Regions from separate parts of the Homo sapiens genome. Here region 2 is linked to region 1. The links are contacts of gene promoters, found by promoter capture Hi-C in blood cells and fetal thymus (Javierre and others, 2016). All regions are on one chromosome and are shown on one strand. The core of a region is centred on a gene start or on the middle of the fragment in contact, and the rest is flanking DNA. Distances in the headings are between cores, read along the strand shown. Region 1 holds the start of RICTOR (RPTOR independent companion of MTOR complex 2). Region 2 holds the start of FBXO4 (F-box protein 4).

Evidence for each region. Contacts are between HindIII fragments. The CHiCAGO score rates a contact against its expected background, and 5 or more counts as called.
Region 2: a contact is called between the fragment with the promoter of FBXO4 here and the fragment with the promoter of RICTOR in region 1, in 1 of 17 cell types (total B cells). The highest score is 5.5, in total B cells.

What each region holds. Positions count from the first base shown.
Region 1 is chr5:39,071,491-39,079,037 of GRCh38, forward strand. RICTOR (RPTOR independent companion of MTOR complex 2) reads right to left here and starts at 2,909. Exons shown (of 38, transcript NM_152756.5): 1 at 2,839-2,909; 2 at 2,621-2,668. The coding sequence starts at 2,887. RefSeq lists enhancers at 1,742-2,268, 2,795-3,321, 5,658-5,757 and a silencer at 2,207-3,106. The HindIII fragment of the contact is 5,742 bases long and covers 1,213-6,954 here.
Region 2 is chr5:41,921,687-41,929,233 of GRCh38, forward strand. It overlaps FBXO4 (F-box protein 4), which reads left to right and starts at 3,595. Exons shown (of 7, transcript NM_012176.3): 1 at 3,595-3,812; 2 at 5,327-5,562. The coding sequence starts at 3,624. RefSeq lists silencers at 3,853-4,032, 7,461-7,547. The HindIII fragment of the contact is 6,278 bases long and covers 2,130-7,547 here.

The DNA.
Region 1 (7,547 bases), core at 1,659-4,158:
AAAGTATCCGGTCTTATGCCAAGTACTTTAATTAAGAACTAGCTCATTTACTTTTCACATTCTTAACCCTTTGAAGTTATCTCTTATTTTAGAAATGAAGAAATCAGGGGTAAAGCAAGGTCAAATAACTTGCCCCAAATCACCCAACTATTAAATCTCACAGCTGAGGTTACAATCCAGAATGATTTGACTTTATAGTCAACTCTCTTTTCACTACACATTGATGGATCCTTTAGGGATTACAATGACCATGTCCTCTATTTTATAATGAGCTTTATTAGGTAACTACACAATGAATCTCTCAAAGATTAAATTTAAAAAATAAGAATAAAAGCAAACACTGCCTTGGCATTAAACAAAAAAATTTTTGGTTGCCCAAACTTTATCTTTTTACATACTGTAATCTAATCCACAAACAGCTGCCCTTCAGCTGCAACCCAAACTGCCTCACAGTTCTCAAATTATTACTAAACTTTAATTCCTCATGAATTTTCTTCAAGCCTTCTTTGAACAATGAAATGTCTGTCACAACAGCAACTTTTTAAAACAATAGTATCACTATAAAATGACTGATTCAGATTAATTCCAAACTTCCTTATGATTTAGAAATACAGATCTCAAACAATCCCTCACTCTTTATTTTTGCAATCAGTTTTAAATGGCTGTGTATACTTTATTCCAAACTGAAGTACATTTTGTCAGGGCAAGCCGAAAACAGCATTTTCTGCACTATCTATATTAACCTGGAAATACCTATGGACATAGGTGCTTACTAAATTCTCAGTTAATATGGCATTTTAAATAGTAAACAGTTACCTGTGTGCCTCAGTAAAACTGGAGTAAGCCAAAATTATCAAATCAGATGTGTACCTAAGCTCTTCCACAACTCAACATTTTTGACACCAAGCAGAGAAACCACTATATATAGGAGCTCGACGAACTCAATTTAAAATACAACTATATATTTCCAGCACCACATCTGAGCAGGTTTTTAATGCACAAGTTAAACTCAAGTTTATTAAGGGCTCCCTTCACCTTCATCTAAAACACATATGCCTGTATATAAATTAAATCACTCACTAATTACATCTTTTACAGACCTGAAATTGTAGAAGTTATCCTTGTTAGGAAGTTTTCTAGTGAATCTATTTTATATAGATTTTTCACATGTGTGTTATAGTCAAGTTTCCAAACAGTTGCACAGAAGTCAAAAGCTTTACATCTTTCTATACTAATTCTCAAAACCGATCTGCTGAAAAAAATGGTGGAAATTAGTGCATTGATAATCTAATTAGTAGCCATTTTCAGGATTTAAGCTCTACTATATTGTATTATATTTTAGAAACTGTCTTGTAAAAGGACCTAGTTCACCCAAAACTAAGTCCCTGAACTTTCAGAATAAAATATTAAGTTATAAAAATGTACTCTTGTAGCTAAGTGAAAGCTGACCATTCAGTTTATAAAACAGTAATCTTACATCGTGATAAGCAAAATAAAACAAATTAGAAAATGCACTATGCTTTCACTCTAGCCGTTGTCAACAAGGAGCCCAGCTTTAACAAATTACTGTAGATAACAGTCATTACGTCAGGTACGACATAGGGTAAAAAACTGATCTCATACAGAATGTCTACAACAAGTTTTTTTGTTTACTTCCTAAGGTGTTTTATAGACCTCAGAAACTGATTCTGTACAGCTGAACCGGGTTACACTCCAAGCTACAGCCCGTGTGAAATATGACTTCGTCGGAATCAGTAGGCTCAATCCTGTTTACCGTGGAAGAGAAAAGAATCTTGTACGTAACTACTAAATCTTCAACGAGATAATGTCGAATAAACTCTAGTACTGTAAGTGATAGAGGAAACACTGGCTAGTAACGGGATTAGGTCATTAAAAATATCACCCGAGTTTCCCCAGTTCGGAAGGTGTAAACAAACCCATCTCCACTGCAGAAGGTAAACAATGAACCTGCAGCAGGGTGAGGGGGCGGTCTTTAGCCAACTACAGTCCCAGCGGCCCGGGAAAGGGAAGCAGAAGGGAAACAGCATAAACCAGACATTTAGCAGTAATGACCAGTTCTAGGTTTCACTACCAAGTTATCAATGCTGCGGGTCCCCACAGGACGGTGGGCAAAGGGGAAAGCAGTCACGCAGTCGGCAAGCACCGAGCAGGTCCGGCTTCTGCTCCGGGGACGGGGAGGGCAGGATGTGGTCGCTCTTCCCTCAAACATCCTCCTGCAACCTAAATAACAGCCTCTACCTCCCTCCAGCTGCCCCTAGCTTGGGCTGCCGGACTCCGGGATAGGTGCAAACCACTCTGCCGGAGCTCGAGCCCAGAGGGTCGCCGGGTCTGCCGAGTTCCACTCGGGGCTCCCCCGCACCCGCAGCAGCCCGAGGCCCGGAGAAGGGCTCGGGCGAGGGAAGCGGGCGCTGGGTAGGGGGATGGGTCCGGCGAGGCGGCCCCGGGCTCGGTTCCCGCGGGCCGGCAGGCGGGGCTCCGGCTCTGGCCCCCGCACCCCGCCGGTCCCGTGCGGGGCCCGCCCCTGCCTCTGGCCCCCAGCCCCGGACCCGGCTCCTCCCCAGCAGCGCGCCCTCGCGGCGCCCGCGGCGCCCCGCGTTACCTCGGGTCAGATCCAGCGGGACGTTCTCCTCGCCGCTGTCATTCCGCCCTGCGCGAAACAGACACACAGCCCCAATTAGGATTGGCTCGCAGGCCAGCTGCGGCTGCCCTGGCTCCGGCCAGCGCCCCGGCTCGCTCCCCAACCCAGGGCCAGGGGAAGGCAAGTGCCAGGGGTGGCGGGCGCCGGGCGGTGGGGAGTGAGGGTTGCAGCGGGCTTACCTCGTACTCGGAGGTTCTTCAGAGAGCGGCCGCGGCCGATCGCCGCCATATTGACGGGTTTCAGTCACAACACCGGAAACCTCGCCCAATCGCGCGAGAACCCCTTCCCCTCCCCGCGCGCCGCGCCCGCCCCCCGCGGCACCTCCCCCGCCCCCTCGGCGGCGACGGCGGCGGGTGGTGCAGGCTCGGCCCCAGCGCTGAGGGAGCACTGAGCCGACCCAAGGTCTGCAAGGAGTTCGCGGCACCCGCCCGCCCACGCCGGACCCGGAGGGCACGTCCGCCGGGAGGGGCAGTTCCCACGAGGAAAGTCCCATTGATGCGAGTTGGCAGTGTAGAGGATGCTCCCCTCCGGCCGCCGCGGAAGCCGTCGTCCAAATGCAGGCGAGCGGGGAGGAGGAGGCCGGGATGCGGCCGGCGGGCCACCTGCTCTCGCCGGCCTGCCAGTCTCCTGCTTGCTCTGAAGCCCTGCCATAGACGGCCCCGCTCCCCCGTGTATCCACTGAAACATTTTTTTATAAAAACGCTGCGCACAGTTTTAGACTCCTTTCCTGGAATCGCTTTGCTCCAACTAAGTTAACACGTAACAAAGTTTGTTTTCCAGCCTCGCCCTTGATCTTCAGAATGCCCCTCTCGGCTAGGAGGGCTTCTCCAAGTGGAAGTGGTTAGGCAGTTTTGTTTTTGGCCGCCAGGCGTAGGACGCGAGAAGGGGGTGCAGCGGCCGGGGACCAGGGCGGCGGTCCCCGCGGTGGGATCGCGCCAGCGCCGGGAGGCCGGGGAGAGGGTGTTCTCTGCCGGGAGCCGAGGCGAGGCTGCTGGGTACTGTGTCCGGCTTTTATGGCTCTGCAGCTCCTAGGATCGTGGCTCATGCAGGTGTTGTGGATTAATCTATTTTATGCATAAGCCTATTAACATTAGGGATTTTAATTCTAGAAACTGCTTAGTTAATACGTATGTGTACACACACACACACACACACACACACACACACACACACACACACACACACACACACACACACACACACCTGGCCACTGACCCAGCAGCTTTCTCTTGAACTACATTTACTTTAAAGAGAGGAGCGATTTGTCCTCTCCAGTTCCTCAGCTCATCTTTCTATTCCATGAGACTGAAAGTTAATTAAAAGTGGAGATCTAGCCTTAACCAGTTCTGTTTTCCCAGCTCCCAGTTAATGCAATATCTGGCACAAATAAGTATTCAATAAATATCTGTTGGATGAGTAAGTGCCCTGGATTTCTAATTTATTCCAATTCTCTGCTTACTTTAAAAAAGAAAAAAAAAGCAATATTGGGGATATTTGTTGAAGTTGTTAATAAGAGTGAACATTTGGAAACACTTAAATGACCAAAGGTAGGGATTATGTAAATTATGTCAACGATTAAAAGTGAAGAGGTAGACTTAGTAATAGGAAATAATGTTCATGATATTAAATCAAGCAAAATATTACAAATTTCCTGTTTTATAATAAAAGTTTAAATATGTACGAAATTAAAAATATACATTATAAAATATTTTATATGTACATGTATGTTGAAAAAAGTCTGAAAATATACATGAAAATGTTAGCTGATTTTCTCCCCTCATTTGTGGAATTACACGTGCACTTTTTTGTTCTTGTTTGCTTGTCTCTACTTTTTAAATATCCTATAGTTAATATATGTCATTTGTAAAATAAGTGGTAAGAAGAAAAATAAAAGGAACATAAAGTAGCATCATCTGGAAAATAAAATAGGAACACTGCTTCCTTAGAATATTGCCAATTATCTATATATTCCAGTTCTTTTTTTTTTTTTAAACCAAGTCTACAATCAGATATCTGCGGCTGATACTGCACTTAGATTTAAGGATGTAACACAATTACAGTACTTTAAAGAAATGTCTTCTGGCATTACCAGTAGTAGTTTTAATGTCAACAAGCGTGCTCCCTCCGTTATAGCTTTAAAAATCTTGGTGCAATTTATTTATTCTAGTTACTGCCTAAAACAAAAATCACAAAACTTGAGGTCTGGCAGAGGGTTGGATTTCAACCCTCCATGTATCACCACATTTCACCCTTAAAGAAAAGTAGAGATCTATCAGTAGAAATTATACCAGATTCTTACAGTTGTTCTGATTTTCAACAAATCTTTTATCATATTATAAAATCCCTCTATATTCTACATTAACTCCTTCCTAATACAATTTAACTTCATTTTCTCTCGGTGTTTTATGAAAGTTGAGTACAACTAATCTACTTTTAAGTTACTTGAGGTACATAAGTGCCTAAATCCAGTAGTATTTTAATCATTATAACTGTATGCTATTAAAGACAATTATTCAATTACTCTATTTCTTGCAGGAGAAAAAATTACATTCAATCTTTCATCGAAACTAGTTTTTTCTCTGTTACTATTTCAGTCGTTTGAGTGGTTAGGTTCTCCATATTTGCTCTTAGAGTGAATGGCAGGTCTGGTGAAAAGGAACAAGTTATTAGTGTTTGCAAGTGACACTCAACTAGGAAGCAGAAGTTTAGATAAATTTTAGTAAGGAATACATTTTATAATGTGTTTGCTTTTTAAACAGTAGCACTACTTTATTGTTTATAGTCAGATTGATACTTGTTAAAACCCCTAAATTTTCTTCTTTGATACTTGCCAATTGCTAGCTATTCCTCCTTTTGAAACTTCTTTTTCTTCCTTGCATCTTTTAGCCGACCCATATGACTTACTCATTTTGTTTACTTCTTACTACTTCTCCAATTTTTATTTTGATTCTAATCTGGTCATTGAGAATGTGACTTCCTCTTCTTAGTTTTCGTTTCCCAGCTAGGTTTCATTTGCTGTGTCAGTGACTGTTTTTTTTTTTCTGGTAGTATTAGTCATTGATAAAAAATGTTCTATAAGAAGATCGAGTCCAGGACCATACCTTTGGAAGATAACTGCTTAATTCTGAGGATACAATTACTCCATTCATAGTCACTCCCTTGGTTCTATTCTCTACCCTCCTGCATGCAGTTAATAATTCTAGTATATAACTAGAATTCTAGTAATAATTCTAGTATGTAAACCATATTTTATCGGTTTGGGATACAGTTGTAATACTGAACAGAAACAAAAGCCTTATCAAAATCTTAGTTCCCTTTAATCTCTCTGCCTTGGTACATAGGCCATTTGAAGATAAAGCAAGTAAAAAGCCACAAAATTTGGTCAGACTATTTCTTGGTAACTTCATAGTTAAACCGCACATTTGAGACATCTAAAGGCCATTTACACGACAAGCAATGAATTAAATTTAACAAATGTTACAATCCCATCCAGTGTTAATTATGTCTTGGTCACAGCAGAACAGAGCCCCTGAGTATTGTGTCTTTAAATTTTAATCTCTGTCCCAAAATCTCATATAAATTTCCTTTTAAATAATTCTTTAAAGAGACTCTCTATGACTAACAGTTTTAAATGAAGAATAAACCTATGTTTATGGAAGATGAAGATATGTTAAAAAATGAAATCTAGAAGGGTATGCAGTAAAATTTCAACAGTTATTATCTACAGATGGTAGAATTTGGAGTGATTTTTCTCTCCCGTTTTCTCATTTTACTTGTTCCCAAACAAATTTTTACTCATGAATTTTTTTAGGAAAACTATTTTAGAAAAATTTTGTTGGCTATTCTAAACCAAAATTATAAACAGTTGATTATAATAATGACTTACTTAACAGGTCATTATAAACAATCAAAATTATTTGTGCATCTGTTCATTAAAAAAAGAACTTTTGCACATACACTGCAATACATATATATTCACTTTTTAAATTAAATTAGAACTTAAAACATAAACACAAAATAAAAATGGTTAAAAGTAATTTTTAATGTTATTTTACTAATGACACGAATACAAAGCAATGGGGCTGAATATACTTCATTATTCTCGACATTTCTTGTTATATACTTTGTGATACTGAAATTTAAAAGTCTAGTTCTAAGAAGAGTTTATGTGGGTATAGGGTTTTAATAGCTGAGACCTCACAAAATGCAAAGTTAAAAATGGAAGAACTACTGTATTGGCCGCATTTCTAAACCATAAAACTCATTTTCCCATTTCGTCCACCCAGTGATACAAAAGCTTTTTGAAATGTAATTTGGCTAACAAATATCCATCTTCCCTAATGTCAATCAGTTTTCCTATCAAACTAGTAATTTGGCTAACAAATATTCATCTTGCCTAATGTCAATCAGTTTTCCTATCAAACTAGAAGACATAACATTTAGAAATTTTCAGCAAAATGGTTGCAAAACCATTTATCTGAAAGATTTTGAAGCAGATTGGGAAACTCTGTTCCCATGATTTTCAAGTGTGCAGATATGAAAATTTATATATGTGACACATTTATATTTTAAGTTTTTTCAGAAAAAAATCACAAAACTGAAACACTTTCAAATATCTGTTTTCTAAATGCTCTCATCCTAGCACAGGTTTTTTGGAAGTATTAAATTTCTTAGTTATTGTTATCACATCTACCTTGAAGGGAAATTTTTTTTTAATTTTTTTTAAAAAATCTGATAGGTAACATGCTACTCGAAGCCACCAGTCATCATGAAAAAAAAGCTTGCCACTAAATAAATAGTAAACACCTGTATAATACAAAAGATTTTCTTCACCTCTCATTTCAAAGTGTGTGAAAATTAAACTTTTTAAAAAGTCTTATTTATACAA
Region 2 (7,547 bases), core at 2,345-4,844, 2.9 Mb after region 1:
CATCTCAGTTTACTATTTTAACTTCTGAATGTTATTTCTTCTGGTCCTAATAACTTTTAAAGATGGGGTAATATAGTGGTTAGGATTCTGAGCTCTGGAGCCAGAAGGCCTGAGTTTAATCATAGCCCTGCCATTTATAATACTAACTGTGTGACTCTCTTTAAGTTATTTAATCTTCCTGTGCTGCCTTATCTTATTTTTAAGGCAGTAATAGTACCTACCTCAAGGATATTGAAGATAAATAAGTTAATATTCAGAGTGCTTTAGTTCAGTGTGTAGTATATAAGAGCACAAGAGAATTAGCTATTTCTAGACTGTTTCCCTTAATGTCTAGTTCTGTATATAGGCATACCTCATTTAGCATGCTGACTCATTAGCCAGACAATTGAATGACAAACTTGTTGGCCAGGAAAGCACTGCCTTTTCCTTAGTTCAAGTCATGCCGGTCTTTCTAGGTGGGAAGCAGACTTCAGAGAAGAAATCAGGACTTGGATAGGCATCTCAAATGTTTTTTGTGGATATGACTGGAAGAAAACATCCAATTAATTTTCAAAACATTTTCAGCCCTCCCTCAAAATATATATAAAACCCACTGTATTGAGATGTACTAGTCATCTAAATATGTTATACATATCCTATTTAAAACTGGATTTTTTAATCAGCCTGATTGCCTTGGCTTCTGATACCTTTTGGTCTAATTCTTAACTCACAAGTCAGAAGCATTCAATGAAATACTGGTTATTTAAATTTAAATACTATACTTAAAAATAGGTTATTCTAAATCCTTGTATAGCCACATGATTGAGTAGTATGTACCTGTAAAAATCCATGAGGTATATTTCTGTTTAACGCTACAGAGTGGTCTTATTAAGTAAAAACAAAATGGAGAAGGTATATATATATATGTGTGTGTGTGTGTGTGTGTATGTATCATATTTAAGAAAGGGAATATAAAAGTGCGTGTGTGTGTGTAGTTAAAAAAAAGAAACAATGGACCCATAACCAAAACTTTAAAAAATGGTTACTTATGGTGGAGGCAGGAGGAGAGGAACCAGATGGAAAGGACCAGGATGGAAGCTAGATTTCTCAGAATATATCTTGAATTTTCAACATTTGACTTTGGTACATATGTTATTCTAAAACGAGATTTAAGCAAAGTTAAGAAAAGCCCTACAAGTCCAAAGCAAAATGAAACAGACGACCTGCATTGCATATCAAGTTGATGGCTTGAATACACAGGTATGTTTCAGTTATCTTTAAAGCATAGTAATTTGTATGTCCATTCTTAATGGGATATATCCAAGGGCAAAAAGAAATGTGAAGAAATCTTAAACTCTTCAGTAATTAAATTGTTAATCATAACTATGTTAATATAATTAGAAATGAGGATTTTTAGTGTATGAGAAAAGATACATACAAAATCAAAGAGTAAAAACAATCTGTAATCCTAAATTTGAATGGGAAATAACACGAAGTTATGTTTTCTCTATATAAAAGACACTAGAAAGGCCTGGAAACCATGTTCAAATACCATTCCCGTCAAAATGAGCCAGAGTTTTCTGGAAATATAGCTAATTCTGGCTTGAGCAGGACAATCAAATGACTGACGGAAAATTTTTCTTTAATTCAGCTAATAAAAGGAATTATAGAACTAGAATACTAACATTTTATAACTTGTAAGCAAATAATATTCATTGATAAATGCTCTATCTTTGAGGTGAAAAACTTACAGGAAATTTGAATGGATCAGCCCAGTGAAACCACTGATCACTCCGAACATTAGAAAATGAGAATGACTTGTAGCTTTCAGTCTCAGTATATAATACCATTTACGAATGTGTTAAAGACACTATTGAGATGCCATTAATAGTGTGCAGGCCGTGTTCAGTGGGTCACACTTGTAATCCTAGCACTTTGGAAGGCCACAGCAGGAGGATCACTTGAGCCTGGGAGGTCGAGACCAGCCTGGAAAACATGGTGAAACTCCATCTCTACTAACAAAAAAAAAAAAAAAAGAAGAAGAAGAATATAGAAAAAAGAAAGTCCAGAGTGGTCCAGAAAGACCAACCTGCTTTCTTTAACAAATATCAAGGGAAAATAAAGGAGGGGGAGCTATACAATGAAACTTAAGCTTTAAGAGTATCCGTAATGTGTGACCCTTGTTGGGCTATGATTCAAACAAATCAAATGTGAAAAATTATTTTCAAAGCAGATGGGGAAGTTAAACACTGACTCGGTATTTGGTGATTTTAATGAATTAAAATTGCTTAGGTACAGTGGTCTGTTTCTTAAAATCTGTTTTTTTTAGGGACGGATACTGAGATATTTACAGATGATAGGTCTGGGATTTGTTTCAAAAGGATCCAGAATTGGGGGTGTAGTATTAGGTGAGTATAGCAACAGCACAAGATTAACCAGGTGTTGGTAATGGAATCTTGGATACTGGGCACACAGGAGCATATTATTCACTCTCCTTTTATAAATGTTCAAAATTTTCCGTAATAAAGTTTTTCTCATTCATTTAACAGATATCATTTTAATACTTTATACTTGAACTGATTTTTTTTCTTGCTCTAGTTCGTTTTTTGCTCTCAAAGTAAATCGTGTCCTAGAAAGTGATGAGAAATGCCATATGGTTAATCCGTGGTCCTTGTCCAGATTGCCTCCCAAAAACGAGGCTGCAATTTTATTGGTTATTGGCCCCTACCAACAACATGCAAATAATAAAATGTAATGAAACTTAAACTTGTATGTTACAGAGCCTTGCAGAACCTTAGTTATCAGGCTTTCTTGGATTCTGTTGACATTTAGATCCTCAGAGATTTACTTTTTGAATGTATACATACCCAGTTCTATGTAACAGATTAACTTGTAATACGTTCTCTTAAAGCACTTTTAAAGTAAGCCCAAAGTAAGTAGAATGGGCATCTGGTTTGAGAATTAAAAAACTCACTAGTGGGATTTCAACACCACCACATCTGGGTTCTTCTAGCCGTTTTTTGCCGCCCTTGCAAATTTTAAATGTGCTTATATTTTTGCATAGTGGGTCCAGACTTCTCATTTTGGCAAAAGGTTCTTTGTAATTGGCCCGCTGACTGCCTCTCTAGTCTGTTTTTGCTGATACTCAAGAAAATAAATGGTAACTTGGTGATTGAGGAAATAACACACACAAAAAACACCCCATACGTAGTATGGTAGTGCTGAAAAGGAAGCAAGTGGTTATTAAGCCCAAGACAGTGGCAGAGGTCTATCGAACAAGCGGAGTCGCCTAGGACCAGGCATAGTGGAAATGATCCCGGAGAGAACATCTTGAATGAAGCCAGGAAGTCAGCGGGCCAGAGGTTGTACAGGGGCTCTGCGGTTGGCGTGGCTGAGGTTGAGGCCACAAGTTACTGGGGAAGTTAATTGTTGACAGGAGCTTCGTACTCGGCTCACAGCCACGCACAGTGGGCTTCCTCCCAGTACCCGCCCTTGCCCCTGGGCCTAACCCTGCCCTGGAGGCGGACTCGCGGGAGAAGCGGGAGGCGGAACGCCCGAGGGCGCCCTCGGCTGGCGCGGAGCTGCGCAGGAGGCTGACGCGCTAGCGTGGCTCTAAGACGCGTCACCCACGCTGCGGGCAAGCCATGGCGGGAAGCGAGCCGCGCAGCGGAACAAACTCGCCGCCGCCGCCCTTCAGCGACTGGGGCCGCCTGGAGGCGGCCATCCTCAGCGGCTGGAAGACCTTCTGGCAGTCAGTGAGCAAGGAGAGGGTGGCGCGTACGACCTCACGGGAGGAGGTGGATGAGGCGGCCAGCACCCTGACGCGGCTGCCGGTGAGCGTCGGCCGCAGGCCGCGGAGGACAGTGGGGCCGGCCCGGGCCGGAGGGACCTCCCCTGGAGCCCCCCGGGGCCTGGGGAACTCTCGCGCCCCGGCCTGGGTCTGGCTCCGTCCATGCAGCCATTCCTGGCAGTGTAGTCACCGAGAAGCTACAGTTGATCAGAAGCGTCTTGGCGTGGACCCTGGTGCTCCGCAGGGGGCCCGAACATCTCAGGGAAGCACCTTCATGGGGCCCCTGGGGACCCTCCCGATCGCCCTCAGGTTTTCCACCCGCCAAAACAGGCACATGTGACTAGGACACCCTGAATGTCCGGTTACGGAAATGAGACAGTTCCCAACTTGCTGATTAGCTTGGGAAAGCATTCCAGCGTCCCTGTTCCCAGCGTCTTTGATTCCGGATCACTGTACCAAAACACTTGGAGGGCCAAGGTTTTTACCCTCTCAAGAGGACATTGTGCCTGTGGCTGTTATTGTGTATTTGAAGAAACAAAACGGCCCCTCAGTTGAAAATAAATGACTTAAGTTACAAGTGCCTCAAGTTACATCAAGGCCACGAGAATGACACACATAACTTATTGTTAAACTTTGGGGTAGATAGGTAAATGAAGAGAACAAAAATTATTGAAAATTATTACAATTCTTTGTCTCATTTGGACTATTGACACCTCTCTCCAATGTGTATATCAACGTGAAAGCTGCAGGTTTAGAATGCCTCCAAGTTTCTCCTTGCAGAGGTTTTTCATAACATTTTAATAGATTCTGTAGAGGAACTAAGATGACAAATTTACGGCCGGGCGCGGTGGCTCACGCCTGTAATCCCAGCACTTTGGGAGACCCAGGTGGGCGGATCACGAGGTCAGGAGATCAAGACCATCCTGGCTAACACGGTGAAACCCCGTCTCTACTAAAAATATAAAAAATTAGCCGGGCTTGGTGGCAGGCGCCTGTAGTCCCAGCTACTTGGGAGGCTGAGGCAGGAGCATGGCGTGAACCTGGGAGACGGAGCTTGCAGTGAGCCGAGATCTTGCCACTGCACTCCAGCCTGGGCGACAGAGCGAGACTGTGTCTCAAAAAAGAAAAAGACAAATGTACACTCTTTGATTTGGTCTGATGATAAAATCAGATAAAGGTTGATATGGGTTTTATTTTGAAGGACAAATTATTTCCTTAACTAATTTATGTAACTAACTGGTATATCCAAATATCTCTGAGGAAAAATTAAAGGAACTGGTGATTTTGCTGGAAAAATAGCAAGACAGTGGTTGCTTTTTCAGGAATGTTTCAGGTGTTTCAGAAATTAAATGTTTAACAACTACGAAACTAAAATGTTCAGTTATGATCCTTTGCTGATAGCAGGAAAATAATAGATTTAATTATTAATGGTAGATTTAGTTATTAAAAATACTAGTCAGTTGACCTTTTGTTATTTATTTGTTGATTATGTGGTTTATCACCCAAAAACTATTTTCTTCATTCCTTTTTCCTACCTGCTGCTTTCTTCTGTTTCAGATTGATGTACAGCTATATATTTTGTCCTTTCTTTCACCTCATGATCTGTGTCAGTTGGGAAGTACAAATCATTATTGGAATGAAACTGTAAGAGATCCAATTCTGTGGAGATACTTTTTGTTGAGGGATCTTCCTTCTTGGTCTTCTGTTGACTGGAAGTCTCTTCCAGATCTAGAAATCTTAAAAAAGCCTATATCTGAGGTCACTGATGGTGCATTTTTTGACTACATGGCAGTGTAAGTATCTAGTTTTATGAATTAAAAAGAAGCTATTAAATTTTCCTGTATTACTAGTCAATATCCAAGTTAATCCTGACCCTGCTACTGATTTGTTGCGTGGATTTGGGGTCTAATTGTTCTCGTCAAAACTGGGAGTTAAATGACTTCCTTCATAGGACCCTTTCAGCTTTAATATTTTATTATTTCCCTGTGGTGCCTAACCAGTATTTGAATAATTATAAGTAGTATAGATGGCAAGAAGTAAAAGACTTCTTAAAAGTCTCATGATCTTTAGAACAATTGTCATTTTGTTAAATAAGTAAATACTTTTCCGTATTCAGAAAAAGGATGATCAGAGACCCCTGTTGTTTGGCAGGGAAGAAGAAAACCATTCTAAAGGCTCTGAGAAATAAGATTATATTAGCACCGAAAAGCACTGACATTTTTTAATATTGCGTAGGTGAGATAATTAATGTTACTGAGCAACTGCAGTGTACTGGATTCTACGAGGGATGCTTTATGTATGTTTTACTCATTTAATCCTCATGCAACAAGAAGGTGTTATCTTTGTATCCCAGATGTGGAATTAAGGTTCATGGAGGTTATGTGATTTGCCTAAAGTCATATAGCTTGTAAGGGACTATTCAGACTGGAACCCCATTATGCTACCTCAAAGATATATAATGACATTATATATCTGGATATAGCTTGTTTTTCTGAGAAACTCAAATTTAACGCATTATTTTAAAAATTTCAAAATATTTATTCTTTAAAAATTGTTGTGCTTGACTCAGTAGCAAAATACAGAATTTTTTTTTCAAATTTTGAGTTATTCAGAGCCTTTCCTTATTCTAATACAGATGCCATTATGTCAAGTGTTGTGAGACTATTTGATTCAAAGGTGTGTTGTCTGTTATAGATAATCTCAGCAAGTGCTGCTGTATCTCACTTGCTAGGCAATACCTGTACAATAGCTAACCATTGCATCAAGTGTATATGAGGCTGTGGAATTAGATTTTGCCCAGGGAATAGTAATAATAGTAACTACCATTTATGGTCATATAAAGTACTTATCATTTTTACAACCCTGAGTTATTTCTTTCTTTTCTTTTTTTTTTTTTTGAGACGGAGTCTTGCTCTGTCGCCCAGGCTGGAGTGCAGTGGAGCGATCTCGGCTCACTGCAAGCTCCGCCTCCTGGGTTCACGCCATTCTCCTGCCTTATCCTCCCGAGTAGCTGGGACTAGAGGCACCCGCCACCACGCCTGGCTAATTTTTTGTATTTTTAGTAGAGACGGGGTTTCACCGTGTTACCCAGGATGGTCTTGATCTCCTGACCTCGTGATCCACCCACCTTGGCCTCCCAAAGTGCTGGGATTACAGGCGTGAGCCACTGCGCCCGGCCAACCCTGAGTTATTTCTGTTGCTCAAATAATACAGATGAAGAAACTGAAATTCAGACTGTAAGTGGCTCATATAACTAAAAGTAGTGAGGCTTGGTCAGGTCTATCCAGCTTCAAAGTTGTTTTGTGTTTGTTTTTTCCCCTTCATGAGTTACAAGGTTTCTAATAAAAGGATTTTGTTAGGTTAGTGATTTTGTTAACCAGCTTGACTTATTTGAAGGACTTTAGGTTTTATTTTGATTTGGGCAACTTTTAATTTTTGATAAAATGCATAATTGGTACTTTAGAGATTTATAGCTATTGCAAGAAACGGAATTGTTTTACATCATTCTTAGTTTGCTAGGTTTGCTGCAAGGATCATTTGAGCCTCCCTCATTTAACTCTTACTAAACTGTTATATTTGAGGCTATTAATAGAAGTACCCAAGACATTTGAAATTTGGTTATATTGGTAGTGTTAGCAATTTTTTTGGTTTGTTTGTTTTTTACCTGTAGGGATATTGTGCTAACTATCTGTGTGTAGCTTATCTTTAGTGCTGAGTTTCTCAATCTTGGCACTATTGACATTTTGAGCCAAATAATTCTTTGTTCTGGGGCCTGCCC